Regions from separate parts of the Homo sapiens genome. Here regions 1, 2, 4, 5, 6 and 7 are each linked to region 3. The links are contacts of gene promoters, found by promoter capture Hi-C in blood cells and fetal thymus (Javierre and others, 2016). All regions are on one chromosome and are shown on one strand. Each heading gives the region's core, a stretch centred on a gene start or on the middle of the fragment in contact. The rest is flanking DNA. Distances are from core to core; before and after follow the strand shown. Region 1 has its middle 19 kb from the start of C1S. Region 2 overlaps EMG1 (EMG1 N1-specific pseudouridine methyltransferase). Region 3 holds the start of NOP2 (NOP2 nucleolar protein). Region 4 holds the start of C12orf57 (chromosome 12 open reading frame 57). Region 5 holds the start of ATN1 (atrophin 1). Region 6 overlaps LPCAT3 (lysophosphatidylcholine acyltransferase 3). Region 7 overlaps C1S (complement C1s).

Region 1 (4,110 bases), core at 343-2,842, 470 kb after region 3:
CACACCCGGCCCAGGCTGCAGTGCAGTGGCACGATCTCGGCTCACTGCAAGCCCTGCCTCCCAGGTTCACGCCATTCTCCTGCCTCAGCCTCCTGAGTAGCTGGGACTACAGGCGCCCGCCACCACACCCGGCTAATTTTTTTGTATTTTTAGTAGAGACAGGGTTTCACCGTGTTAGCCAGGATGGTCTTGATCTCCTGACCTCGTGATCTGCCTGCCTCGGCCTCCCAAAGTGCTGGGATTACAGGCGTTGAGCCACCGCACCTGGCTTCTCTGTTTGGTTTTCTATAACATTATTCTTTTTTTTTTATAGAGACAGTGTCTCATTATGTTGCTCAGGTTGGTCTTGAATTCCTGGTCTCAAGCCATCCTCCTGCCTCAGCCTCCCAAAGTGCTGGGATTACAGGCGTGACCCACTGCACCTGGCCAGCATTCTTTTTTTTTTTTTTAAACTGTTGAACACTCTGTAATTATTAGGTAAAATTAATAGTACTTCACAATTATATATATCACTTTACAGTTTACAAAGTTACTAAGTAGACATTTGTTTTGATGCCCCAAAATAAAATTTAACTTCTTTGTCCTCCCTTCTCCCCTCCATCAAGGAAAGACTAAGGAACATTTAATCAGAAAAGGCAATATAAGTGCATCAATCTGTACAGAACTGCAAAGAATAAAGGGGAGGAGGGTAGGACCCTGAAGAGGGCCACAGGGACTTCAGGAAGGAGAAAACCAGAGTGTTAAACGTGAGGAAAGCCCAGGGGTGACAGGGAGTTAACCACCATAAGGGGCAGGTTGTATTCACTACATAAAAGGAGGGGCACACGGCATATGTTTCACATTCTAAAATAATATGACAATATCATAACTGAAGAGCTGAAGTTGAATTTTGTGGTTTCTCAGAACACAAGTAGAAGATGACCACCAACCATGGTTTCTGAATAAACTGAGTTCAAAGTGCATCTGGTTGCAGCAGGGGGCTTCCTTGGACTCTGATACTAGAAATTTAACAAAGGTAATTCGAGGAGCTGCGATTTTACATAGTGGTGGCATCCTAGGGGGCATCTATCGCATCAGTTAAGTTTAATATCTGGCAATCATGGAAAAGGAGTTTCTGAGCAGGTAATACTTGGGCCATCTCTTGGAGATTCCTGCTGTAAGGACTAAGTTTCTCCAGAGAAAGCACTTGCCTGGGTATGACTCAGGGCCGGGCAAAAATTCACACTATGAATCTGGTGGAAGGGGGAGAAGTATGCCTGGTGGGACCACATTCCCATAATTCTCTAACCTCACATCTCTGTAGAGTTCCCTCTGAACAAGGTCCAGGTATCTCCATTCCTCTTGAGTAAGGTGCACAGCCACATCCTCAGATGTCACAAACTGCTGATACCTGGCTGTCAGGAGCGCAGCTGCCTGATCTCCTGGGCTGTCCTCATGGGGAAAGGCAGGCACCTGGGGAACAGGTGGAACCCTAGTGAGTCCCTGTTCCATGTCGGTGTCCTGCACAAAATGAGGCTTTGGAGTCAGACTCTCAGACTGGGTCTCCAAAAACTGAAATCGGACCCTTGGTGAGCCTGCTGCTTCCTGGGCTGGTATTTTCTCCATCCCTGTTCTGGAGGACAATGACCGTCGCAGCTTGCATCAGGACATGGCCACTGGGTCCTGATGGCGAGGCCCGCCCTCGGTCTGTGGGGTGAACTGGGGCTGAAGAGAAATAGGCCTTTGCACCCAAGCATCTGCACACTCTTGGGGAAGGAAACCACTGTCCCATATTCTTTACATTATCCTTGTCATTTAGGATCTCCAGGATTGGCTTCAGTGTTAATGATTCTTTGTCATTATTTTCCTGTAAGAGTGCCCTTTTATCTAAAGATTTCAGTTCATTTATTTGACAGAAATCTTCAACCATATATATAAAAATATATAAATATATATATATACTTTTTTTTGGTGACAGAGTCTCATTCTGTCACCCAGGCTGGAGTGCAGTGGCGTGATCTCAGCTCACTGCAACCTCCGCCTCCCAAGTTCAAGCGATTCTCCTGTCTCAGCCTCTGGAGTAGCTGGGATTACAGGTGTGCACCACCACACCTGGCTAATTTTTGTATTTTTAGTAGAGATGGGGTTTCACCATGTTGGCCAGGCTGATCTTGAACTCCTGACCTCAGGTAATCTGCCTGCTTTGGCCTCCCAAAGAGCTGGGATTACAGGCGTGAGCCACCATGCCCATACTCAACCATATCTTTGAATACTTTCCCATTCCAGTTGTTATATTCTTTTCTCAAAACACCAATCATGTATCTCCTTGATCCATTTTCATCAGCGTCTCTGCGATTTTATCCCTTTGCACTTTTCCATTTTGTTTTGGGTGATTTTTTTCAAGACTGGCCTCCATGTACTATCTATGTTTTCATAGTATGTATTTGACTTCTTGCTGTTTCTATAATGAACTTTTCATTTTTGTGGTGGCTTTCCTGTTATTTCCAATTTCTCAGTTAAGTTCTACCACATCACTTTTTTCTCTCTAAAAATATGCATCTGTTATTCTCCCTTGTATCTTTTTTTTGAAAAAGTCCATGCTTTAACTTTTGTGAGTATAGAAAAAATATGTCTGACATCTTTCTTCTGCTTGCTGGAATAACTTTCTAAAAATAGACTTTATTTTTATAGGGCAGTTTTAGATTTACAGAAAAATTGAGCGTATAGTACAGAGAATTCCCATACAGCTCCTACACGGTTTCCCCATTATTAATGTCTACATTAGGGTGGAACATTTGTTACAATCATGGAAGTGATGTTGATACATTACTATTAACTAATGTCCATAATTTATTCAGATTCCCTTAGTTTTTACCTAATGTCGTTTTCCTGTTCCAGGGCCTCCTCCAGAATACCACATTACGTTTAGTTTTCATGTCTCCTAGGCTCCTCCTGGCTGTTACACTTTCTCAGACCTTCCTTGATTATGATGACCTCGAAGTTTTGAGGAGTACTGGGAAAGAGTATTATAGGATGCCCCCTACTGGAATTTGTCAGATGTTTTTCTCATGATTATACAGGGATTATGGCTTTTGGGGAGGAAGATCTCAGAGGTAAGTGCCATTCTCGTCTCATTGTATTACCATTATTTATTTATTTTTTAATTTTTATTTTTTGAAATGGAGTCTCACCCTGTCGCCCAGGCTGGAGTGCAATGGTGCGATCTTGGCTCACTGCAACCCCTGTCTCCTGGGTTCAAACGATTCTCCTGCCTCAGGCTCCTGAGCAGCTGGGATTACAGGTGTCTGCCACTACACCCAGCTAATTTTTTTTGTATTGTTTTTAGTAGAGACAGGGTTTCACCAGGTTGGCCAGGCTGGTCTCCAACTCCTGACCTCGTGATCCACCCTCCTAGGCCTCCCAAAGTGTTGGGATTACAGGTGTGAGCCACCGCAGCTGGCCATATTAGCATGATTTATGACTGTTGATGCTGACTTTGATCACCTGCCCAAGGTAGTGTTTATCAGATTTCCCCCCTGTAAATTTGCTCCCTGTCCCTTCCATACTGCAGTCTTAGGAAGGAAGTCACTATAAGCAGCCCATGCTTAAGGAGTGGGGAGTTCTGCTCCCCGTCCTTTACGATGGGACAGCTACATAATTTATTTGGAATTCTACAGAGAATGCTGGGGTAACTTTTTCTGAAGTGGTTTTTGATCATCTGTCTTTTGTTTGCTATTATTTTTCCCTTTTCATTGGGGAGTGGTTTTTGTTCATATGTATTAATTCAGATTTGTTTGCTTATTTTGCAACTTAGCTCTCAAATAATTTGAGGGAAGGGATAGGGGATTTTTTTTTTTAGAGGGAATTGGCAGTTCTGACTCCCTCATGTTGTATCTAACCAAGAACCAAGTTGACATTTCCTCTGCTCGATTACTTCTCTCTCCCTCTTTTTTGCATCCCTCTTCCTCCACGCCACTTTTGGAAAAGCACCTCAGCTCCCTGTGGCTGTCAGGGCTTACAGGTAGATTTCATTCAGATATTTCATGTTTAATTACTTGTATTTCACTGACTCAACAGCGATAAAATTGGTTGTGTGGGCCCACCCTCCTCCCTTTGCCTCCCTCCAGGCAA
Region 2 (3,879 bases), core at 1,380-3,879, 410 kb after region 3:
ATGGAGTCTCAGTCTCTACCAGGCTGGAGTGCAGTGGCACGATCTTGGCTCACTGCAGCCTCCGCCTCCCGGGTTCAATCGATTCTCCTGCCTCAGCCTCCAGAGTAGCTGGGATTACAGGCCTGCGCCTGTAATCTATTAAAAGAATAGAAAACATGATTATATCCTACTAATGGGTTGAAACTGTATTATTCATTCAAGAAGGTTTTTTTCTTCTATAACTAAGGGTGTCTCATGGACTTAGTTCTTGGTCATTTGTTCTTTGTGCTCTCTGTGACATTACTTCAACTATTCAATTTCAAAATCTACATCCCTTTTTTCGCAGACTTTTTGGAGCCATATATCTCAAGAATGTTGCTAGACATATACATTCCAGTGATACATAAAAACTTAACCTTCCAAAACTTGTATTTGTATATAACAGTTTGTTTTTAGACTTTTTACTGACCACCCTAATGCTCCTTGGGACTCCAAATTGCAACTTGGAATTATTTCTTTTAGCTGCTACAGATGTAGTCCACTTCTTTAACATCAAACTTCTGATGTCTTTTCCAGTGTACAGAGAGTTGTTAGGATAGTGTCTGTCAGTCATTCCCATCCTGCCCTGCTTACTCCAGAATTATTTTTGGCTTTGTGCTTGATACATTAGGATTCTGTGGTTTACAAAGCAGCTTCATATATAATCACTGCCCTTTAGTGTCTCAGCTCCCAATTTTCCTCAAAATTTCCTTTCTTCGTTTCCACTTTTTCTTTTTTGTTTCTTTTTTGAGATAGGGTCTTGCTCTGTTGCCTGGGCAACAGAGTGCAGTGGTGTGATGGTTCACTGCAGCCTCTACTTCCCTGGCTCAAGCAGTCCTCCCACCTCATCCTCCTGAGTAACTGGGACTGCCAGCAAATGGCACTGCGCCTGGCTAATTTTTTTTTTTTTTTTTGTGAGACAGGGTCCCACCGTGTTGCCCAGGCCGGTCTCAAATTCCTGGGCTCAAGTGATCCTTCCACCTCGGCCTCCTAAAGTGTTGGGATCACAGGCATAAGCCACCACACCTGGCTACTTTGTCTTGATTCCATCTGTACCTTTGCTCATGCCAGTCTTTCTTTTTTCTTTTTTTTGAGACAGGGTCTTGCTGGAGTGCAGTGGTACAGTCTTGGCTCACTGCAATCTCTGTCTCCTGGGCTCAAGCCATCCTCCCACCTTAGCCTCCCAAGTAGCTAGGACTACAGGCATGTGCCACCATGCCCAGCTAATTTTTGTATTTTTAGTAGAGATGGGGTTTCGCCATGTTGCCCAGGCTGGTCTTGAACTCCTGACCTTAAGTGATTTGCCTGCCTTGGCCTCCCAGAGTGCTGGGATTACAGCCGTGAGCCACTGCATCTGCCCCCATGCCCGTCTTAAAACTGGGAATAACCCCTCTTCCTTTTACTTCTGAGAGTTTTCTTTGATTAAACTGCCTCCTGCATCATTAGTTTTCACATTTCTTTTTTTTGAGATGGAGTCTCGCTCTGTTGCCCGGGCTGGAGTGCAGTGGCGCTGCAAGCTCCGCCTCCTGGGTTCATGCCATTCTCCTGCCTCTGCCTCCCAAGTAGCTGGGACTACAGGCGCCTGCCACCATGCCCGGCTAATTTTTTATATTTTTAGTAGAGATGGGGTTTCACCGTGTTAGCCACGATGGTCTCAATCTCCTGACCTTGTGATCTGCCCGCCTCGGCCTCCCAAAGTGCTGGGATTACAGGCGTGAGCCACCACGCCCGGCCTTCACATTTCTTGTTCAGATTTGCAGCTCTTCACTTAGTGCATGTTTGGTGTACGCAAACTGAGGGTGGTGACTCGATATTTTGCACAGTACCTACTTACTGCTCCTGTAATAAACACAGCATTCAGCCTTGCTAACTACTAACTCCTGCCTAGTTCCAGGATGTCTCATTGGCCTTGCCTAACAGCCACAGGTTTTTTAATTAAATCCAGTGTATTAGTAGATAATGTGAAGTCACAGGTTGTGCCCTTCCTCCTGTTTCCCTCTCAGACCATTCACTGGGGAGTGCAAATAAGGCTGCACAGTAATCCCCCGAAGGGCTTGCTGGGCTCCACCCCCAGTGTTCCTGGTTTAGTAGGTCTAGGGTGGGCCTGAGAATTTGCCTAACAAGTTTCCAGGTGCAGCTGCTGCTGGTAGTTTGGGGACCACACTTGAAGAACCACGGGGCTAGGTAACAGAAGCTTATGCTGTTCTCTCGTCATGTTCCCTGTTCTTCAGGTAGGGAAGACATATGAGCTACTCAACTGTGACAAGCACAAGTCTATATTGTTGAAGAATGGACGGGACCCTGGGGAAGCGCGGCCAGATATCACCCACCAGGTAACTCCAGGGACAGTGCTCACAACCCTTTGAGCCTCTGTATGGAAGGGTTGGCAGCTGAGTGCTGCCTCTCTTCAGCCTTAACCATGTCTCGGTTTCTGCTTTGCTCAGAGTTTGCTGATGCTGATGGATAGTCCCCTGAACCGAGCTGGCTTGCTACAGGTTTATATCCATACACAGAAGAATGTTCTGATTGAAGTGAATCCCCAGACCCGAATTCCCAGAACCTTTGACCGCTTTTGTGGCCTCATGGGTAAGAAGCCTTAGAACAAAGTTAGAATGAACTTGTCAGTAGGGAAGAAGGGAGGAAGAGGAAAAGGGAGAACTAAATGTGGATTTTTAAGCGAGAAAATGGGAGAACAACATGATTAATACCAGGACAAGGACTGTTATTATTTTTCTATGTTTGTGGAAACTCCACTCCTGTTCTTGCAGTAGCTTCCTGGCTGAGTGAAAGAGGGAGTCTGAACCCATCACTGTACAGCTAGCCATATGCTTGGCAACTGTTTGTTCCTAACATTTCAGGAGTCCAGTCTAGATATAAAGCACACAGGGAACTCATCTTATCCATGGGGTTTTCCTTGTTCGATGACTGGACAGAAGGACTGTGGTCTCCATCTAGCTCTGAACTCTTTTTTCCCCCTTCTAGTTCAACTTTTACACAAGCTCAGTGTTCGAGCAGCTGATGGCCCCCAGAAGCTTTTGAAGGTGAGGTATTGAAACCTGTTAGTTGAAGGCTGGTTCTGGGAATGTTTCTGGGGCTGACTTTTCTCTCTTTTTTACTTTAGGTAATTAAGAATCCAGTATCAGATCACTTTCCAGTTGGATGTATGAAAGTTGGCACTTCTTTTTCCATCCCGGTTGTCAGTGATGTGCGTGAGCTGGTGCCCAGCAGTGATCCTATTGTTTTTGTGGTAGGGGCCTTTGCCCATGGCAAGGTAAGGTCTGGGCTCAACCCTGAAATTCTTGGTAGAGCTGAACTTAGTATAGAATTCCCAGAGCAGTAGGCATTTTAACAATGCTTACAATGAGCTAGAAGACACATGACAGTTCCACACCCTGCCCCAGGGCACATCCTTTGAGGGCTGCTGCCATAATTGGAAGTCACAGTTAGGACCTTCTTCATCCTTTGTAGGGATTTGATATTCAACAGCACAGCTGAAATACTAGCTCAGCCATAGTTTTCCTGCCCTAAAGAAGGGCTGAAACAGCTACTGAGTGACAGAGTTGGCTGACAAAACTGTTCTTTTCTTAGGTCAGTGTGGAGTATACAGAGAAGATGGTGTCCATCAGTAACTACCCCCTTTCTGCTGCCCTCACCTGTGCAAAACTTACCACAGCCTTTGAGGAAGTATGGGGGGTCATTTGACAGTAGTAGAACCTGTTCTGAAACCAGAAACTGTTGATGTCACATCCTTTGACCCTGGTCTGAGCTGACTGCTGGAAGATGATCTTTCTGCACTGAGACTGTGGAGTTTGGGGAAGCCAAGGCTGTACATTTGCTATTTGTTTATCCTATGAATACTGT
Region 3 (4,056 bases), core at 501-3,000:
TTCCAGGCAATGGTTTGGCCTCAGGAGACTTATTTGTCTTAGGGGCTTCAACAGAGCCCAATCTCCTCTTGGCTGCCCTGAAAAGACACAAGAGATTCAAGGAGTGAAGAAATGGGAAGATACTTCCAGGCTCTGCCATTTCCACCATAGGGAAATGTGAGAGTCTAGAATTAACTCTGTGGTCAAAGATGAGCAGTACCAATTTAACCTACTTAAGTTTTGACACCCACACTTACCTCTTTCGAGCACGACTAGACAGCCTCTTGGAATTTTCGTCACTTACTGTTTAAAAAAGAAAAACGAGGCAGAACAAGTTACAGGGGACATTAAAAATAAATGGGAACGGAAATAAACATGGTAAGAGAATTAGTACACTAATTAAAAGGAGTCCATTTAAATCTCAGCCCTGTTATTATTTAATAACTGTATACAAGTTTCTTTTTTTTTTTTGAAATGGAGTTTCACTCTTGTCTTCCAGGCTGGAGTGCAATGGCGTGATCTCAACTCACTGCAACCTCCTTCTCCCAGATTCAAGCGATTCTATTGCCTCAGCCTCCCATCACCACACCCAGCTAATTGTTGTATTTTTAGTAAAGACAGGGTTTCACCATGTTGGCCAGGCTGGTCTCGAACACTGGACCTCAGGTGATCCACCTGCCTCGGCCTCCCAAAGTGTTTCCTTAATAGTGCCTCTCTCACAGGACTCTAAGATGATTAAGCGATATAACATGACCAACAAGTTTAATACAGTGCCCAGGACTTCCTACTATCTCAATAAACTGCATCCTTTATCCAATGCCCAACACAAACTCCCGGTCCAGTGTTACCTCCCACCAGTCTTCCACACAGTATACTACTACTCGGCATGAAGCAGCCAGATCCGTGCTTTTCCATTTCCACCCCTTCCAAAAGGCAAATCAGTGACTGACCCCTCCCCTTCACTACTTCCTCTTGCTACAATGTTACCCATTTTTCAAAACCCAGCTTAACAAAAACTTTTACAGTTCTGCATGGGCTCCCCCTTCCTCTGAACTCACAATTGTTTTAAATCACACTTTTCCCTTGCATGAATAATAGTTGTGTCCGTGTCTTCACATCTCTACGACCTAAACAGTTCCCTACAATCTAAACGGCTGTTTCATTCATACCTCCTAGTAACTCATACAGAGAAGATTCCACTTAAATATAAAATGAACAGAAACTAAAAAAGAGAAGAGGTTATAATACAGAATACTGCAAAAGCTGAGGGATCAGGAGGCCACAACTAATCCTTACCTGCAGGCAAGAATCTGACGAGTTCTGTCTCGGCACCCTTCTGCTTCCGGGCCTTTCGGCCTGGCCCCCGCTTCTCCTTCGTAGGGTCCAACTTGCGCCCCATGGTACTGTGGCAGGCAGAAATGGGAGAAGGTGGCGTCGCGCGTGTCGGAGGGAACGGCAGAACGCACGCTTGGCGTATTATAGTGGGAAAGGGCACAGCCTCAACTCAGCACCCGCAACTCACTCAGCACTCCCGACTCAGCACCCGCGACTCAAGCACCCCCGCTATCCCCCTGGAGGCCCGACCGAACGCCCTCCCACCTGAAACCCAGGTAGCGCACCCTTCTCCCCACGTCCCAGACCAGGTCAGTGCTGCCACTCTTCGTCCCCCAATTTCCTCTAGACCCACCAGAATGCGGGTTAATGTCCGAGAGTGCCCTTCGGGCGGCCCTCCACGTGCAATCCGGACCTAGCTTTCGGCCGGCACTCGCCACAGAATCGTTCCACGCAGGCGCACGGGTAGCGCTAGCCTCGCGGCCCCGCCTCTTCCTGTTGCGCCTAGTCGGCCGCCGCACCCGGAACTTACGCTCGCCCTGGGAACGCCAGCGGAGCCGGCGGCGGCGAGTAGGGGGCAATTCGAAGGAGACGCGCAGCTTACACCCGCGGCGGGTGGAGGGAGCAATGTGACGAAACCATTGAGCTTGACCGACCTTCCCTCATGGAGTTGGCTTTTAGCCTCACGGCCGGTTTCTGTTGGGTGAAAGCCGCACCTTCTCCTCGAACCAGGGCCCGACATTGGAGCCCTCTCCCTCGCATCCACTGCCCTAGTCCAGCGTCAAGATCACGGAATTCCAGGCTGGGCGCAGTGGCTCACGCCTGTAATCCCAGCACTTTGGGAGGCTGAGGTGGGTGGATCACTTGAGGTCAGGAGTTCGAGACCAGCCTGGCCAATATGGTGAAACCCTGCTTCTACTAAAAATACAAAATTAGCCGGGCGTGGTGGCGGGCGCCTATAATCCCAGCTACTCGAGAGGCTGAGGCAGAATTGCTTGAGCCCGGGAGGCGGAGGTTGCAGTAAGCCGAGATCGTGCCACTTAAGCCTCACCAAGAGCGAAACTCCACCTCAAAAAAAAAAAACAAAAAAACCAGCCGGGCTCGGTGGCTCACGCCTGTAATCCCAGCACTTTGGGAGGTCGAGGCGGGCGGATCACGAGGTCAAGAAATCCGAGACCATCTTGGCCAACCTTGTCTCTATTAAAAATACAAAAATTAGTTGGGCATGGTGGCTGGCGCACGCGTGTAGTCCCAGCTACTCGGGAGGCTGAGGCAGGAGAATCGCTTGAACCCGGGAGGGGGAGGTTGCAGTGAGCTGAGATCGCGCCACTGTACTCCAGCCTGGCAACAAAGCGAGACTCCATCTCAAAACAAACAAACAAAAAAAACCGTGGAATTCCATGCCACTTACCTCCTCCTCTTTGCCCCTTTTTTAAAAATCTTTTTATAGAGACGGGTTGTAGGGGGTGGCGTCTCACTATATTGCCAGGGCTGGTCTAGAACTCCTGGGCTTAAGCGATCCTCCTGCCCCCACCTTTGTGCTGAGATTACAGGCTGTGAGCCACCGTGCCCCGCCCTCCCAGCACCTTCCTTGATGCTGACCCCTGCTCAGCCCCTCAATTAAGGTGCTGCACTGCACCTCATTCGCAGGGGGCCTCTTCGCCGGAACTCGCTTTCAGGTGGGTCTACAATTAGTTGGGAAACAACGGGTTGCAAGGCTGACCTGGTCTGGGACATGAGAAGGGGTGAACTACAAGGGTTTCAAGGTTGGAGGACGTTAGGTCGGGCCTCCGGGGGTGTGGGATTGAGGCTGTGTTCTTCCACAAATTGCATCCCAATTTTGCACAACTTAGCAAGAAAACCCCCCTCAGCCTTCCTAGAAACTAACATTAAGGTAGTGGTTAGGTGTTAAAACCGTTCCATGTACTTCACTGGTTTAACTTGACAACCGTATGAGGTATACATGAGATATCTGCATCCCACCAAAGTTAAACAACTTGCTCAAGGTCACAGAGCCATTAAGCGGCGGTGCCCGCAGTTTTGCAGCCTCTCATTTTCCACAGGTGGAAGTCAACGTTGGCAAGGCACATACTGCACCCACACACAGAACCCAGTTACTCAGTGGGGTATCAGGACACCACGTAGCCCTTAATTTTCAACTATACAGGTGCCAGGCTCCTGCCGCACACACTCATCCACCTGCACCTACACCCACACTGAACCAGAGCACTAAAATACAAGGAAACTTTTATTTTCAATTTTCATCAAGAAATTTGCTGTGGTTTTTTATGCTTTTGGTTTTTTCCTTTTTTTTTTTTTCCACTTTATTTCATTTAGCCGCTCAGTGGCTAGAGCCGCTGGGTTCCTGGTATTAAAAAGATGCCAACAGAGGTAGCTGTGTCTCGCCCAGGGGCCCAGCCCACTCTGAATACCCCCCAAAAAGGAGAAAAGAAAACACAAAATAAACCAACAAAATAAAACCAAAAGGAGGAAAAAATTCAGATCATTTTCTTCAAGCCTGGCAGGAACCCACAACAGTTTGTGTGTAACAGGCGTTACAGTGGGGAGAAGCCAGGGTCCAGAAGGCCAGCCCGCCAGCTCCTGCAGATGGCGCCAGCGCTACTGCTGCATGTCTCTTCTGCAGGAAGGGCACCACTGCCCCTCACTCCCTCCCCTCCCCCAGTGCACTGGGGCTGTTCCTTTACAACATGGAAGATGGGCAGAAGGAAGGTGAGGGTCTCTCAG
Region 4 (3,869 bases), core at 947-3,446, 380 kb after region 3:
AGCACCCCCACCCTCCCCCCACCGTGCCCTTGGCCTGCCACCCAGAGCCAAGAGGGTGCTGCTCAGTTGCAGGGCCTCCGCAGCTGGACAGAGAGTGGGGGAGGGAGGGACAGACAGAAGGCCAAGGCCCGATGTGGTGTGCAGAGGTGGGGAGGTGGCGAGGATGGGGACAGAAAGCGCACAGAATCTTGGACCAGGTCTCTCTTCCTTGTCCCCCCTGCTTTTCTCCTCCCCCATGCCCAACCCCTGTGGCCGCCGCCCCTCCCCTGCCCCGTTGGTGTGATTATTTCATCTGTTAGATGTGGCTGTTTTGCGTAGCATCGTGTGCCACCCCTGCCCCTCCCCGATCCCTGTGTGCGCGCCCCCTCTGCAATGTATGCCCCTTGCCCCTTCCCCACACTAATAATTTATATATATAAATATCTATATGACGCTCTTAAAAAAACATCCCAACCAAAACCAACCAAACAAAAACATCCTCACAACTCCCCAGGAACATGGCTGTGACTATTCTTTGCGGGATATGGGGGTGAGGCTGGGTCTCAGTGCAGCGGTGCTTAGAGAGAACTGCAGCCAGGGCCTGGCAGGGAAGCGGGAAGAGACCAGACCTTCTTAAGGAACGGGGTGTGGGGGCTGGGAAGAATTGGAGAGGGGATCCCTGAAGAGCCCAGAGCCTTGACTCAGCTGGAGGCGGTACCATGGGTGCTGGTGCCCCCTCCTGCCCCAAGGCTGGGCAGGACCGCTGCGCGCCAGTGGAGGCCTCGGTCTGGGCTCTGTGGCTTATGCCTGTGAGACGCGGGTGGATTGCTTGAGCCCAGGAGTTGGAAACCAGCTTGGGCAACATAGAGAAACCCCATCTTAAGACAAAATCAGCTGGGGGTTGTGGTGCACTTGTGGTCCCAGCTACTCAGGAGGCTGAGGTGGGAGGATCACTTGGGGGTCGAGGCTACAGTGAGTCATGATCGCACCACTGCACTCTAGCCTGGGTGACAGAGCAAGGCCCTATCTCAAAACAAACAAACAAAAGACACCCCAACCAACCAAACACTAGAGGCCTGGGACAGGCCCACCTCTGACGTGGTCAGTTCTAGGAATCTATTCAGACGGGTCTCACTGCTAGGAGCCACCAGAGTCCTCCGGAACAAGGGCTTCAGAGTCCTGAAACCTTTCCGTGGAATACTTTAAGAAACGGTTATGAGGCCAGGCGCGACGGCTCACGCTGGTAATCCCAGGACTTTGGGAGGCCGAGGCGGGCGGATCACGAGGTCAGGAGTTCCAGACCAGCTTGGCCAACATGGCAAAACCCTGTCTCTACTAAAAACAAAACATTAGCTGGGCATGGTGGCGCGCGCCTGTCGTCCCAGCGACTTGGGAGGTTGAGGCAGGAGAATCGCTTGAACCCGGGAGGTGGAGGTTATGGTGAGCCAAGATCCCCCCCAGCTGCACTCCAGCTTGGCGACAGAGCAAGACTCCGTCTCAAAAACAAAAAACAAAGCCGGTTATGAAGCGGGGGTGGGGTGGGCTAGTTTTAATAGGTCCAGGCGATTAGTACCTGGCATCCTTAACCACCTACAGTTTGAGAAGGGAGTGGGTGATAAAAGCCTGGAAGGGAAGGGAAATCGGGCCGGGCATTAGGCTCCATCGCTCATCAATAGACAAGGCCTTTAGGAAACTGCGACAACGGCTTTTGCTCTGGGCCTTTACTGCCGAATCCAGGTCTCCGGGCTTAACAACAACGAAGGGGCTGTGACTGGCTGCTTTCTCAACCAATCAGCACCGAACTCATTTGCATGGGCTGAGAACAAATGTTCGCGAACTCTAGAAATGAATGACTTAAGTAAGTTCCTTAGAATATTATTTTTCCTACTGAAAGTTACCACATGCGTCGTTGTTTATACAGTAATAGGAACAAGAAAAAAGTCACCTAAGCTCACCCTCATCAATTGTGGAGTTCCTTTATATCCCATCTTCTCTCCAAACACATACGCAGCAGTGTTACAGCTCTTTTAGAATTTGTCTAGTAGGCTTTCTGGCTTTTTACCGGAAAGCCCCTCTTATGATGTTTGTTGCCAATGATAGATTGTTTTCACTGTGCAAAAATTATGGGTAGTTTTGGTGGTCTTGATGCAGTTGTAAGCTTGGGGTATGAAGGTTTGGGCCACGCCTGGGCGCTTCCGGCTGCGCCGGATGCTGTTTCCTTTCCGCTCCCAGGGGCGTTGGGAACGGTTGTAGGACGTGGCTCTTTATTCGTGAGTTTTCCATTTACCTCCGCTGAACCTAGAGCTTCAGACGCCCTATGGCGTCCGCCTCGACCCAACCGGCGGCCTTGAGCGCTGAGCAAGCAAAGGGTGAGAATCGTCCTAGTCAAGGCATAGGCTGCTGGCCTGGGGTAGTCAAGGCATGGGCTGCTGGTCTGGGGAGGATGCGGGCGGAGGATGTGGGGCGACAAACCTGGCTACGTCCGCCGGGAAAATGGGGTAGGGGACGCCGGGTACCGTCCTTCTAAGTGGGGCGCTTGCCCCCAAGACTTGGGATCTTATTGGGTTACCTACAGCCTCAATCCACTAATTCCTTGCGCTCTCCGCTGGGCCCGCTGTCTGTTCTCCGACGCCTACCCGGGACGCCTCCCTGGGATGCTTCTGGCGCGCAGTGGTCCTCGCGGAGGTGATCCAGGCGTTCTCCGCCCCGGAGAATGCAGTGCGCATGGACGAGGCTCGGGATAACGCCTGCAACGACATGGGTAAGATGCTGCAATTCGTGCTGCCCGTGGCCACGCAGATCCAGCAGGAGGTTATCAAAGCCTATGGCTTCAGCTGCGACGGGGAAGGTGGGTCAGACGCGGGAAGGCGGGTCAGACGCGGGAAGGCGGGAGTTGGGTCGGGAGAGGGCGCCGGATCTGTGGGCCCATGAGCGGTTGTCCCCTTTCTCGCCACACGGCGGCAGCCACAATCTGACTAACATTCTTGGCACTCAGAGCCCAGGGTCTACCCTGAGCTTGTGCGTCCGAGTTGCGTTTTGTACAGTAGAGGTTCTGTATCCCTTACCCGAAATGGTTGGGACCGGAAGTGTTTCGGGTTTTTTCAGATTTCGGAATATTTACATATACATGGATATCTTGGGGGATGGGACCTAAATCTGAACACGAAATTGTTTTGTTTCATATACACGCACCTTATGCACATAGCCTGAGGGTAATTTTATATAATAGTCTGAATAATTTTGTGCATGAGACAAAGTTTTGACTGCGTTTTGACTACAGTCTCCCCCACCCCCCACTATGAAGTCAGGTGTGGAATTTTCCATTTTCGGCCTCACACTGGCACTCATAATTTCAGATTTTGGATTTTCTAATTAAGGATGGTCAACCTGTACTGTTAATCACATTATTATTCCATTTTGTGATGAGGAAGCAAACTCTAATGGTGCAGACTCTCGAGTAGCAGAGCTGGACTTAAATGCTGTTGTGCCACCTTTTAGTGACATGTCTGCATGACAGCAGTGGCTGCAGTCTCTCCAGGGTGTTTCAGCTAATTTTTGTTTGGGGGGGGTTGGTGGTTAAATTTTTGGTGAGATCCTGGTGTTCCCCAAAGGTGTTGACTGATTCAGCTCTGCTGCCTCATAGCCTTCCTGAGTTCCAGCTACAGACCTGGGGTCTCGTGTTCATTCTTGGGGTTCCAGTGACTAAACTGCTAAAATGGTTCACCTGAGAGCAAGAAGCACACTGCCTTGGGACATTTTCATTCACTGCATCCCATCTAGTTGTGCCCAGTGTAGACCAAATGTCATCATCCAAACCACACGGGACAGAGGCCTGCATGCGTCCTGTTTGGCAAACAGCTGCCCAGCCAGTGGGGGAGCAGTTCATGCTT
Region 5 (4,013 bases), core at 157-2,656, 360 kb after region 3:
CACAAGTACCCGACCCCCACCCCAAATCTGGAGCTCTACTGAGGGCTCCTAATCCACACTCCAGCTCCAGCTCTTCCGGCTTGCCAGCCTGCCTCCCTCCCATTCTCTGGCCTTCCCAATTTCTGCTGCCAAAAATCACCCTGTGTCCTTTGTCCTGGGAGATGTTGCCGCTTGGTGGAGGGCCAGGAGGGAGCCCAGGAGAAGGAACTGGTGGTGGGCTGGCGGAGGTGCTGGCTTCACGGCCGGGAGCAGACTGACTGCCAGAGGCTACCTGGAGAGCAGGGGAGGGAGAGGAAGGGTTGGGAGGAGCCTGCAGTCTGTGGTGGGGACTGTCTCCACCTTAGAACAAGTGGGATTGAGCAACAAGGATACCCAGGGATTTGGGTCCACATTAAGCCCAGTCTTCACCCGACTGCTTCCCTGTGACCCAGGGGATCTTTAGTGATGACTTTCAACAGATTTGAGAAGGAAAATGGAGATGCCACTAGATGGAAGGCCTGAGGATGGTGTCTCACTCCTCCAAGCTGTATCCCTTACCTATCTACCCATGAGCTTGCCAGCAACCTCCCCCCGCTCCCACATCTGTCATTTCCTTTAACTGCCCTCGTTTCCCATCTCCATTTTTTCTTTTTTTTTTTGAGACGGCGTCTCGCTCTGTCTCCCAGGCTGGAGTGCAGTGGCGCGATCTCTGCTTGCTGAAACCTTTGCCTCCCAGGTTCAAGGATTCTCCTGCCTCAGCCTCTGAGTAGCTGGGATTACAGGCATGCGCCACCACACCCGGCTAATTTTTGTATTTTTAGTAGAGACGGGGTTTCGCCATGTTGGCCAGGCTGGTCTTGAACTCCTGACAAGTGACCCACCCGACTCAGCCTCCGAAAGTGCTGAGATTACAGGCGTGAGCCCCCGCACCGGCCCCATCTCCATTTTCTTTTCCCATCCATGATCTTTCCTCTTCCATACTGCCGCCAGCCATAGGCCTTGTTCAGCTTACATTTCCTTCCAATCTTCTTATCCCCCTCTTCCCCATTCTGCCCGCCCAAGTAAACCCTCCTCGGCTCTACTGGGAGCCCCCACCCCCAGGATCCAGCCAGCCCGGTGTCTCCCACCCTTCTTTCCCATCCAGAGCCCTCCTTTCTCACCCAGAACCTATTTTCCCTAGAATTGGCACCTGGGCCCACCTCGTTCATCCCTTCTTAAGGTTCCTCACGCGTTCCCTCCTCTCTCTCCTCACTGACGTTTCCTCTGGACTTCTCTCTCTCCAGCATTCCTTCATCCCCCCACCCCCAATTCTTATATTTATGACTCTTTTGTCAACACTAATCACCCCCAAAAGCTTTACTTTTTCCAGAAGCCCCATCTTTCTATATATGTCATCTTTTCAATTTTTCTCTCTCCTTATGACCCCAAACTTCCATCCCATTCTCTCTGATAATAGCCCCCAAACCCGTCTGGCTCCATCTCTGCCACAGATCCCTCACCCCAAGCTTCTCTCACTTCTCACCAGGCACCCACAAAGCCCCCAGGCAGCTCCATCTTTCCAATCCAATCCCATTATCCCAATCTCTACCCCAGGATCCCCCAAACTCCTCCCACTTCACCTCTGCCACAGACCCGCTCGCCCCCAAACTTCAGCCTCCCCTCATCTGCCCTCACCACCCACAGCCCCTCCTACCTAGCCCTCTCCCGCGCCGGGCCCGCGGGCTCCCCACATTCCGCCACGGCTAGCCCTCCCCGCGCCCCGGCCCCCTCGGCCTCGGCCTCGGCCAACTCGCGCTGCGCCTCCCCCTCTCCGGCTCCCCCTCTCTCCCCCCTCGCGGCTTGCCTCGCGCTCCCTCCCTCGCGTCTCCCTCCTGGCCCCTCTCTCCTCCGTTCCTCCGCGCTCCCTCCTTCTCCCTCTTCCTCCCTTCTCCCATCCCCCTCTCCCAGGCTCCCTCCCTTCGCCGTCCGCTTTCCTGTGCGAGTCGCCGGACGCACCGCCCAGCCCGTCCGCAGCCCCGCGCCGGGTCGGGGCCTCGGGCCGGGCCATTTCGGAGGGACCGCGGCTTCGGGGAGGGGCTAGGAGGGGGGAGAGGGAGCCGACTGCCGGGGAAGGGGCGGGGGCCGCGGGCGAGGCGGCCGAGGGGCCCGGGATCGCGCGGGTGCGGGCTGCGCTAGGCGGGCGCGGGCGGCGGCGGGTCGGAACCGCGCCGAGGGCCGGGCGGGCCGCGGGGCCGGGCGGCGCGGCGGGGGCGGGCGGCGCGGCCCGGGGCATTCCGGGCGGCCAGGGGGAGGCGGCGAGCCCGGGGAGGTGGGGAGCAGAGCGGGGATCGGGGTTTGCTCCGGGGGCCGGCGGGCGATTGGGGCCAGGCGGGGAAAAGGGGGGATGGGGGCCGCCCTCCGGGGGGGTCGGGGCCGCCGCCGCCGTCGTCGCGGCGGCGACTGAGGCCGAGAAGAGGAGAGGGGGGCGGGGGAGCTGCCGCCGCCGCCCCCCAGAGGCGCCGGAGCCCGGAATCCCGCTCGGAGCCAGCCAGCCGTCCCGAGCTACCAGCAGGTAAGGTCTGCGGCCGCCTGGGCCCCGGGCCCGCGGGGTTCTGTCCCGCCCGGGCTCCGGCCTGCGGCTCCCCACCCCCACCCCTCCCAGTTCCCCCTCCTGCCGCCGCCGCCTCCATTTGTTATTTTCCCAATCCCGTCCCCCCACTGCGGGCTCTGCCTGGCCTGAGGGCCGGGGGCTCAGGGGGTGGGGCCCGCCGAGGAGAGTCGGGGGCCAGGGTTTCGGGAGGATCGGGAAGGTGGGGAAGGAGGGAGGGTCTCCGGAGGAGGCCTGTGGGGCCAGAGGGTATCCGGGACCCGCAGACTCAAAAGAGGAGGAACATCGAGGCCGGGGTTGGCGGAGGAAAACGGGGGATGCTGTGAGTGGGGTTCCGGGCGAAGGCAGAATGGATAGGAGAGATGGCAGCGAGGTGGGGCATGAAGCCTCCAGGAAAAAGCTCCAAAGGACCAGAACACGGGTTCCGGAGCCTGGGGTTGGGGGCTTTAGGAATAGACGGGAAGTGGGAAACGGGAAAGGGGTGTGGTAGGTGGAAAGAGGGATTGTGGCTGATGAACCTGGGGGAGACGGAGGCTTGGGCAAAGAGAGGTCCATTTTTGAGAAGAGCCGGAGGTTTTCCAGCGTGGAAGAGGGAAGGCCATGTCTTTGTGACGGTTTTCATTCCCCTACTGCAGGTCACCTCTGACCCTGTTTTCCCTATCCCAGACATAGTTATTTCTTGGAGAGGGCACTGGGGCCCAGTAGTGTGGGTTATCCCAAAACTAGTGAGGAGGAAAACAGGAACACAGAAGGGGGAGTTGGGAAGAAAGGGGTTCTGGGAGGATGGAAATGGAGAATTGAGCAACCTTACAGGCACTCCAGGCAAGTTGCGACCTCCACCCTCCACCCTCCAATTTCCGGAGCGTCCGCTGCCCCTGGAGCTGTGATCTATATAGGGAGGCCTTAGTTACTGCTTTGAGCTCAAAGATCTCCCTTTGTGCATGGGCTTATTTTGACTAGGGTAGGTACCTTCAAGCTCCCTTACCTGAGGTGCTATAGGAGGGTAGGAGTTGCTTTGGCAACTGGGGTAGGGGGTAGCTGCCAGATGGACACCTGGGATGGTCTCTTGAGGGGCACCTTTTGCCACTGTGTTGCTATGGTAGTGATCCAGTGGGATGTCAGATTGGTTGGGGGGGCTTCGAATGTTTATTGGACCTCAGCCTGTGGCTGTCCTTGGGACTCTGGGCTGGGTTTTGGAGGTTGTTTCTGGATCTGTTGGTGGTTGGGAGTTTCCCCACGGTGTGCACCCTTTCATGTTGAAGTCTGTTGGAACAGGTAGATACGTTCCTTGCAGATCATAGGTGTTTCTCCAAGTCTCTCCACCTGGGCATGATGGGAGGATGAAAACGCTTCTGTTCAGGTTACACCATCTTTTGGCAGTTGGTTCTGACCTCTACCTCCCTTATTATGTTATTTTTTGTAGAGTTGTCTTTTTGCTTCTTTGCAC
Region 6 (3,955 bases), core at 649-3,148, 440 kb after region 3:
ATTCTTGGCCAGGGGCAATGGCTTATGCCTGTAATCTCAGCACTTTGGGAGGCTGAGGCTGGTGGATTGCTTGAGCTCAGGAGTTTGAGACCACCCTGGGCAACACGGTAAAACCCTGTTTCTACAAAAAATACAGAAAAAATTAGCCAGGCATGGTGGCTCACGCCTGTAGTTCCAGCTACTCAGGAGGCTGAGGCTAGAGAATTGCTTGATCTGGGAAGCAGACGTTGCAGTGAGCTGAGATTGCACCACTGCACTCCAGCCTGAATGACAGAGTAACACCATGTCTCAAAAAAAAAAAAAAAAAAAAAGAAAGAAAGAAAAAGAAATTCCCAAACGGGAAGGTTTAGATTATGATGAAATTTGTGGCTATGAACTAGAATAAAGTCTAAACATGTAGAAGTAATATACCTAGACTTTTAAAATTGGAAGGGTCCTTGAAAGTCATTTAGGACAGTCTCCCTATTTTATAGCAGTAGAATTTTTGGACCCTGCTTTGTATTATGGTCAGAAGTCTCTTTGTTTCATTAATGCTGCTTAATTTTCATCTAGCTTACCTTTGGTCTCTTTATATTGTGATTCCAGTGCTACCTGAAGAAAGCTTTCTGCACTGAATAATGGATTTTTTTCTGAAGGGCCAGACCTGACTTTGGTCCAAAGGGAACTAAACTGCAGGACCTCCTTTGATTTTAAAGGTCGCTAACTTTAGTGATGCTAATTCTGAACCTCTGAGGGATGAATTGTTACCCCCAGCTGCAATTTTTGATCAGTCTAACAGCCAAGCCACCATCATGGCCAAGACTAGGGAACACTCACAGTAAGCAGGGTGGCCATCTGCTCCATTTGGCCAGCTCTAGCTTTGGACACTGAGAGGTGGCTCATATACTGATTGCATCTTGGTTTAACCACTGAGAGTGAAAAGAGAAAAGGACACCAAGGGCATTTATCTTTTCCAGCCCCACATGCTCCTCCCAATCTCAGCGGTAAAGAGCAGGAACTCTGGAGTCAGGCAGAACTCAGTGTGACTTACTCAATCTTTGTAGGGCTGACTTTCCTATCTGTACCAGGAGATCTTAACAGCACTATAATTACCTCACGGGTAACTGGCAGGTTTAGGTGGGGAACTGCCTGTTGACCATTTAGGACAATGTCTGGTACACAGAAAATCCTTAATAAATGCCAGCTATTACTATTATCAAGGGGTAGCAACATTAACATACCCAATCAACGTGAATAAGATCCTCTTCTCTGTATAACCTTTTCCATGGCATTTCATTCCCTCCCTGAGTCAGTTATGATACCAATACTGTCTCCTAAAACTCTGTCTTTAGCCCAGCTTCTTTCCTGAGCTCAAGACCAGGCTTCACAACTCCCAAGATACCTGGAAGTGCCCTTGGAACCTAAAGTGAACCCCAAACCAGATCATTTCCTGGCACTTAAGAGTATCTGATCCTCCACTTGATCTCTGGCATTGGTCAAAGATACCCTTATCTTTCCAGCTACTCAGGCAGGAGGATGGAGTCTTTTTAAAATTACGACTTTATCCTCCAGCTAATAAGTTGCCAAGTCATTCATTCATACATTCACCTATTCAAGTATTTATCGAGCCTTTTCTACAAGCCAAGTAATGTGTTAAACTCTGGGTACACTGTGGTAAACAAAACTTCCATGGTTTCTGTCCTCATCTACAAATATATAATTACAAAGTGTAATATATACTTGGAAGGAAATTCCGGTCAGTATGAGAAAGTGTAACAGGGGACATAATTGAACATGAGAGTCAGGAAAGAACTCAGAGGAAGATGAAAAGGAGTTTGTCAGGTGACTGAAGGGCACTCCAGGCAGCAGGTAAGCGTGTGCAAAGGCTCTGAGGTAGGGAAGCCTTCATGCCTTTCCTGAGGAACTGAACAAAGGCCATGTGGCTAAAAGGTTGTCAGCTTGCTTGGGACGAGGCTGGGGCAGCAGGCAGGGGCTTACCAGCCAGGTATGGAAGCCCCTGAAGGGTTCTGAGCAGGAGAGGCACAGGATCGGATCACTCTGGCTGCTTTTGGAGAGTGGACTGAGGGGGCAAGAACAGAATTAGAGACTAGTCAGGAGGCTACTTGGGTGGTGCTGGTGACAGATGGTTAGTGGCTGTGGTGATGGAGAATAGTAGATGGATCTGAGACACAATCCAGAGGTTGTATTGATAGGATTGGGTGACTGGGATGTGGGGAGTGAGTGAAGAAAGGCAACAAAGCTGATTCTTGGGTTTCAGGCATGAGCAGCTGTGTAGATGACTGTGTCTACAGAATCTACCTTTCAAAAGGTTCCGGTATTCCTAGACCATCTCACAGGAGATGCCCACTTTCTCCTCTCAGCACAGCCACCCTGCCTCCAAGTCATTATAACTTCCTCTCTAGATCACTTCTTTCTCCTTAGTTTCCCTACTACTTGTCTATGCTGACTTCAAATCACCCCAGGCTGTATTATCTTTTTAAATACAGCTCCAGCCATATTATTCCCCACTCAAAAATCTCCAATGTTCCCTATCACCTACGTGAGTACTAACTCTTTACCTTGGCTTTAAAGGCTCTTTAACCTACAGTTCCAGCCTGATTTTCCATCACTTCTTTAAAGTCCTGTTTTAGTCACACTAGACTACTGACTGTTCCTTGGCTGTGTTGCCACATTCACACCTCAGTGCCTCTGCTCATGCTATTCCTTAAGTCTTACCATCTCAGCATGCTGAAACCTTACTCATCTTTAAATGAAATGTCCCATCTTTAAATCTCACAAAGCTCTGTACCTCTCTTATGGTGCTTAAAATTTATTGGGGTTATTAGTATACTTATCTCAGGCCCATTTCCTATACCCTAACAGACCATAATACCTTTGAGTGCAGGGCTCCTGACTCATACTACACCCACTGCTCCTGCCCTTGCAGGGTTAAGAATACTGCTTTACCTGTAGTAGGTGCATGTTACTGAATTTATATGAGCAATTCATGGTATTAGTTACATTAAGGAGTGATGAGATCCAAGCTGTTGAAGGGGAGATGTTTTCTGGTAGTATTTGCCAGCACCAGGGCTCATGGCAAAATTCCTCTTCAGCATCCTTCCATCAAACTCCTTGCAAGCATACACCACACAAACATAAACACACTCCTTTTACAGTCTTCTGACTGCTCAAAATACTCCAGTGCAGCAGTCCACATAAGCTTACTTTTTCTTTGAAGTATTGAATATTAAAAATTGCAGCCTCGGCTGGGCGCGGTGGCTCATGCCTGTAATTTCACGCCTGTAATTCCAGCACTTTGGGAGGCCGAGGCAGGTGGATCACGACGTCAGTAGATTGAGACCATCCTAGCCAACATGGTGAAACCCCGTCTCTACTAAAAACACAAAAATTAGCCGGGTATGATGGCGTGCACCATAGTCCTAGCTACTCAGGAGGCTGAGGAGGAGAACTGCTTGAACCTGGGAGGCGGAGGTTGCAATGAGCCGACATCGAGCCACTGCACTCCAGTGTGGGTGACAGAGCGAGACTCCGTCTCAAAAAAAAAAAAAAAAAAAAAATTGCAGCCTCTAACTCAAGATTTTTCAAACTGTTGTAACTCATTAACAAGTCATGAAATCAACTTAGTGAGTTATTATTAAGGGCAAGTATTCTTTCCTGAAACTTGTTTCAAATACGTGTATACACATACAAGTCTGTGTGTTCTGGGTCACAATGTAAAACATATTTCTTACGATGGATCTTAGTCAAAAAGGTTTAAAAGCCAGTGCTTTAATGCTCTGCATTCCACCCCAAGATCAGCACACAGAACTGAAGTAAAAAAAGTAAGATGTTAAGAAAATAGTAATTAGACTATCTGATTAAAACGTACACTTGAAAATGTGAATGATATACCTAACTCTTCCCTTGGGGTATTTGCATTTAGGGAGGTGTTTTTAACCTGAATTAATCTAATCAG
Region 7 (4,009 bases), core at 352-2,851, 500 kb after region 3:
GGCCCACAGACGTGTGTCATCAAACCCAGCTAATATTTTTATTGTTATTCTTTTTTTTTTTACAGAGATGGGGTTTTGCTATGTTGCTCAGGATAGCCTGAAACTCCTAGCCTCAAGCAATGCTCCCACCTCGGCCTCCCAAAGTGCTGGGATTATAGGTGTGAGCCACTGCACTCAGCCTGAAGATAAAATTATCTTTTCTCCTGACCCTTATTTTCTTCTTATTTTATGTGACATTTAATGCCTCTTTTATTTGTATCTCCCACTTCCCAATTTTACCTCTTCCCTTTAGTTCTTTCCCTCTTCTGATTTCATCATTTTGTTCAGTTTGTTGCAGGAGATCGGCAATTTGGTCCTTACTGTGGTCATGGATTCCCTGGGCCTCTAAATATTGAAACCAAGAGTAATGCTCTTGATATCATCTTCCAAACTGATCTAACAGGGCAAAAAAAGGGCTGGAAACTTCGCTATCATGGAGATCGTGAGTAACTTAGAAGTGCCTCTTTGGTTGGTGATACCAAAGTCCCCAAACAATGTGGGATCAAAGCAGGTAGATGATCCAGGCACACTGGAAGCACCTGTGATCTCAGCTACCGAGGGAGGCTGAGGCAGGAGGATCCCTTGAGCCCAGGAAGTAGGAGTTTGAGTCCACTCTGGGCAACAGAGCAAAACCTTGTCTCTAAAACAAAACAAAAACAAAGCAACAATAATTTAAAAAACAGATAGATTGTTGTTCTGATAGAATCCTGAGATACTTCACTTCTTCAGGAAAATCTAAACCAGTCAACGGTTGCTAGAAATGCCTCAACCTCTAGTAATCCTTTAACTAGACCTGAGACTGCAGACAGCTTGCGGGTGGTTAGTTGGTAATGCCATATGATTTTAGACATCTGCTGTATTGGAATGTTAAGCATCAGGATTGAGGACAACTGGACGATTTTAGAAAGTGTGAGAATGATGTAAATAGAATGAGAGTCTTCAACTATTTAGTAATTTTTTCCTCCTGTCCCAACTTCTGTTCTTTCAAGCAATGCCCTGCCCTAAGGAAGACACTCCCAATTCTGTTTGGGAGCCTGCGAAGGCAAAATATGTCTTTAGAGATGTGGTGCAGATAACCTGTCTGGATGGGTTTGAAGTTGTGGAGGTAAAGTACCACCTTGGCTTCTCCCCAGTCCCTGGCCCCAGATCAGGATGAGCGGACTGAAATTGTCCAGTTGTTTACCCAATGTATGTGTGTGATCAAGGTATAACACCTTTCCCATAAACACAACAGCTTAAGATCTGTAGTTCTCCCTTGTGAGTCATGGAGCTGCCTGGCCAGCTTGGCATTCTCTCTGCCTTCAGTCTTCTTGAGGAAGGGGAGTTGACACGTTGGGGCAAAGCTTTCTGTCAGCCTCATCTCCTGGGTGCTTTAGGTCTGCTAAGATGTTCCCAAGCTTCTTGTGGTGAGGACTCCTCATTGATCCAAGGCCAGAGATCAATTCCAGTTTTGATTTTGGTTTCCCATATCTCTCTTCAGAAATAAGTGGTGATGTTTATTATTCTCCAGGGACGTGTTGGTGCAACATCTTTCTATTCGACTTGTCAAAGCAATGGAAAGTGGAGTAATTCCAAACTGAAATGTCAACGTATGTGTCTCTTCAAAGTGGAAGTCTTTCTTTTTCTCTCAGAGAGAATGGAAAGATCAGCACATCAAAATTCAAATGCATGGTTTCCTCTTAGGCATGTGAGGGAGTGGGTTGGGTTTTTGAAGGGAAGCCAGTCATGGAAGCTTTTCTAGTCCCAGCCCCGCATCTGGTCCCAGGCCAACTAGATCGGCATGTTTCTTTCCAAGAAAGGGGCTATGGGATAGGTCGAGTTAGTAGCCCCACGTGGGTGCATTTGTGGCTTCCACTGGGCCTTCACCAACCACTGAGAACCAGGCTCTTCACTACGGCTTTCATGGGGCCATCTGAATTGGCATCTCAGCGGGTGAGAGAGCTGAGAGATGCCAGTTGGGGAGGATGGCCACAGAGAGGCTGGTGTGGGGAGGTTCATCCCAGGTGTGCCTGTGGATATGGGGTGGGGAAGCAGTGAGGATGAACCTGGCCCCATGACTCTTCCTTGGAGGAAGTGGCTGTCCTGACCATCGCTCTCCTTCCTTCGTCTGGTAGCTGTGGACTGTGGCATTCCTGAATCCATTGAGAATGGTAAAGTTGAAGACCCAGAGAGCACTTTGTTTGGTTCTGTCATCCGCTACACTTGTGAGGAGCCATATTACTACATGGAAAATGGAGGAGGTGGTAGGTTTCTTCTACTGGAGAAGAGAGAGAGAGAGTGAGAAGGTGTTGGAGGGTGGATAGCATAATCTGTGCCAGAGACAGAGTTTGGAGACAAATGAAGGCGATAGGACAGACATTGTTCATCCCCTTGGCTTCGTCCAAAGATACAGTTTTCATCTGGAGCAGGGCAAGTTCAGGGGAGCATCAGCCTCAGGGAATCATAGAGGTCACCAACTGAGTTCACAGCTGCAGCAGGAATTCCCCTACAACATCCATTTCATGGGATTACCCACCTTTTGACCAGTTATTTCATGTAAAACCCACAGGAGCAATGCCTTCAGCTTTAAGCCACCAAACTACACTGACTGGCTTTCTTGATGTAGAGGCTTTGGTCATGCTAGGTGCAGGGCTGAATGAGACCCTAATACGTTCTCTGCATTGCTCTGTATTTATTTCGCCACTTTCCCGATGCCTTCTTTCCTTCTGCTTTGGAGATGTTCCCTTTGTCTCCCTGGCAGGCTAGAGGCCTGAGGGATTGTTTGGAGGAAGATATTTTTTTTCTGGCTGATTTAATCTGATTTACTACTTGAATCCTAGACGAGCTGAGGTTCTGAAGGAACGGGGCAGGGTGTTGGGGTCGGAGGGGGGAATGGAAGAAGGAAGATGTGGTGGTGAGTGTGGCCTGTGTTCTCTGTGCTATTCCAGGGGAGTATCACTGTGCTGGTAACGGGAGCTGGGTGAATGAGGTGCTGGGCCCGGAGCTGCCGAAATGTGTTCCAGGTAAGGAGGGCTGAGGCTTGGGGAGAGATGATAGCCATGGGTGACTGGGAGTCACCTTCTGAAAGCAACTGTAATCCTCTTGGGAAAGGACTGAACAGTGACCTGCCAGAGTCCAGCTCAGTGAGGTGGCAGTATCACTGTGCCGTGGGCTGCCAGGGCCGTGGGGAACCTCCTCAGCCGCACTGAAGCCAGGCCAACTGGAAGGAAATAGAAACGTCAGCCAGCGACAGTTGGTGTCTGGTAATGTAGCTGCAGTGAGAAGATACAGAACTGCTAAAAACAGGGCCTGAAAGCTGAGAGTGTGTGAGTAATCAACACTCAGAAACAAGTCTAGCTAAATAGCCTAGTTATTATATTAAAAGTTTATAGGGCAGCAAGATATAGAGGAATTCAAAGAATGAGGAAGATAAGAGTTGGGTAGCAGAAGGCTGAGGCAAATCCAATAGGATAATAACCATCCTGGGTGGTACTGAAAGCTGAAGACTGAGCTGATTTGTTGCATTTATTATCTCATTCGTGTCCGTATAACAGCCCTGTGAGCTAGGTGTCATTGGTCTTATCTGACCAATGTCAAATGTGAATGGGTGGGGTGCAAGTTCACAGAGTTAGCAAGTGGCAAAGGCAGGCTTTGAGCCCAGGTCTGTCTAAGTTCACAGCCCATTGTGCTCAACTTGGAGTCCCTCCAGGCTGTCTAGTAAGGGATTTAAGTAAGCAGCTTCACTTGAATTCAGTTATTAGTATAACTGAATGGTAATGGCACCAGTCACTGGGAGTGAGAGGTCAGGGCCAAAGAAGGGACCCCTCTCTACTTCCTAGGCTGACCTGTGGTTTACTAGGAGGGACTCAGGTGCAACTAGGACTCCAGTAAAGAAGGTGATTAAAGTTTGATCTGGGCATCTGAAGAAGGCAGAAATCTTTCCTCCTCCACCATCTGTGTGAGAAAAGGGTTTCCAGCACTGGCTCTTGAT

The links. The method cuts DNA at HindIII sites, captures the fragments that hold promoters and counts their contacts. A CHiCAGO score of 5 or more calls a contact.
Region 1: a contact is called between a fragment that was not itself captured here and the fragment with the promoter of NOP2 in region 3, in 2 of 17 cell types (non-activated CD4 T cells and activated CD4 T cells). The highest score is 5.7, in non-activated CD4 T cells.
Region 2: a contact is called between a fragment that was not itself captured here and the fragment with the promoter of NOP2 in region 3, in 8 of 17 cell types (non-activated CD4 T cells, activated CD4 T cells, total CD8 T cells and 5 more). The highest score is 13.8, in non-activated CD4 T cells.
Region 4: the fragment with the promoter of C12orf57 here is called in contact with the fragment with the promoter of NOP2 in region 3 in 1 of 17 cell types (activated CD4 T cells); the score reaches 5.1 in activated CD4 T cells.
Region 5: a contact is called between a fragment that was not itself captured here and the fragment with the promoter of NOP2 in region 3, in 10 of 17 cell types (non-activated CD4 T cells, activated CD4 T cells, naive B cells and 7 more). The highest score is 19.5, in non-activated CD4 T cells.
Region 6: a contact is called between a fragment that was not itself captured here and the fragment with the promoter of NOP2 in region 3, in 7 of 17 cell types (activated CD4 T cells, total CD4 T cells, non-activated CD4 T cells and 4 more). The highest score is 12.1, in activated CD4 T cells.
Region 7: a fragment that was not itself captured here is called in contact with the fragment with the promoter of NOP2 in region 3 in 5 of 17 cell types (activated CD4 T cells, non-activated CD4 T cells, total CD8 T cells and 2 more); the score reaches 11.3 in activated CD4 T cells.

What each region holds. Positions count from the first base shown.
Region 1 is chr12:7,040,037-7,044,146 of GRCh38, forward strand. It overlaps the pseudogene LOC100419825. Among named protein-coding and RNA genes, the nearest start is that of C1S, 19 kb to the right of the region's middle. The HindIII fragment of the contact is 6,449 bases long and covers 1-4,110 here.
Region 2 is chr12:6,972,090-6,975,968 of GRCh38, forward strand. EMG1 (EMG1 N1-specific pseudouridine methyltransferase) reads left to right here. Exons shown (of 6, transcript NM_006331.8): 2 at 2,250-2,351; 3 at 2,463-2,604; 4 at 3,001-3,059; 5 at 3,140-3,289; 6 at 3,607-3,879. The coding sequence ends at 3,720. Among named protein-coding and RNA genes, the nearest start is that of EMG1, 3.1 kb to the left of the region's middle. The HindIII fragment of the contact is 838 bases long and covers 2,211-3,048 here.
Region 3 is chr12:6,566,541-6,570,596 of GRCh38, forward strand. NOP2 (NOP2 nucleolar protein) reads right to left here and starts at 1,751. Exons shown (of 16, transcript NM_001258308.2): 1 at 1,667-1,751; 2 at 1,276-1,382; 3 at 237-282; 4 at 1-77. The coding sequence starts at 1,378. It overlaps CHD4-AS1 (CHD4 antisense RNA 1), which reads left to right and starts at 1,831. Exons shown (of 3, transcript NR_199067.1): 1 at 1,831-2,990. CHD4 (chromodomain helicase DNA binding protein 4) reads right to left here. Exons shown (of 40, transcript NM_001273.5): 40 at 3,542-4,056. RefSeq lists enhancers at 1,601-2,222, 2,046-2,095, 3,763-4,056. The HindIII fragment of the contact is 18,468 bases long and covers 1-4,056 here.
Region 4 is chr12:6,941,826-6,945,694 of GRCh38, forward strand. It overlaps C12orf57 (chromosome 12 open reading frame 57), which reads left to right and starts at 2,197. Exons shown (of 3, transcript NM_138425.4): 1 at 2,197-2,348; 2 at 2,651-2,827. The coding sequence starts at 2,297. RNU7-1 (RNA, U7 small nuclear 1) reads left to right here and starts at 1,991; the gene lies at 1,991-2,053. It overlaps ATN1 (atrophin 1), which reads left to right. Exons shown (of 10, transcript NM_001940.4): 10 at 1-496. RefSeq lists enhancers at 2,005-2,584, 2,084-2,273, 2,574-2,693, 2,585-3,164, 2,704-2,853 and 1 more and a silencer at 2,487-2,746. The HindIII fragment of the contact is 10,579 bases long and covers 2,136-3,869 here.
Region 5 is chr12:6,925,855-6,929,867 of GRCh38, forward strand. ATN1 (atrophin 1) reads left to right here and starts at 2,105. Exons shown (of 10, transcript NM_001940.4): 1 at 2,105-2,530. It overlaps LOC124902868 (a long non-coding RNA gene), which reads right to left and starts at 1,842. Exons shown (of 2, transcript XR_007063194.1): 1 at 1,673-1,842; 2 at 1-271. RefSeq lists an enhancer at 1-689 and silencers at 1,714-1,763, 1,944-2,103. The HindIII fragment of the contact is 151 bases long and covers 1,332-1,482 here.
Region 6 is chr12:7,011,358-7,015,312 of GRCh38, forward strand. All of the region lies in intron 1 of LPCAT3 (lysophosphatidylcholine acyltransferase 3), which reads right to left. Among named protein-coding and RNA genes, the nearest start is that of LPCAT3, 5.1 kb to the right of the region's middle. The HindIII fragment of the contact is 2,598 bases long and covers 600-3,197 here.
Region 7 is chr12:7,065,490-7,069,498 of GRCh38, forward strand. It overlaps C1S (complement C1s), which reads left to right. Exons shown (of 12, transcript NM_001734.5): 7 at 328-481; 8 at 1,029-1,144; 9 at 1,550-1,628; 10 at 2,154-2,282; 11 at 2,967-3,041. Among named protein-coding and RNA genes, the nearest start is that of C1S, 6.8 kb to the left of the region's middle. The HindIII fragment of the contact is 335 bases long and covers 1,435-1,769 here.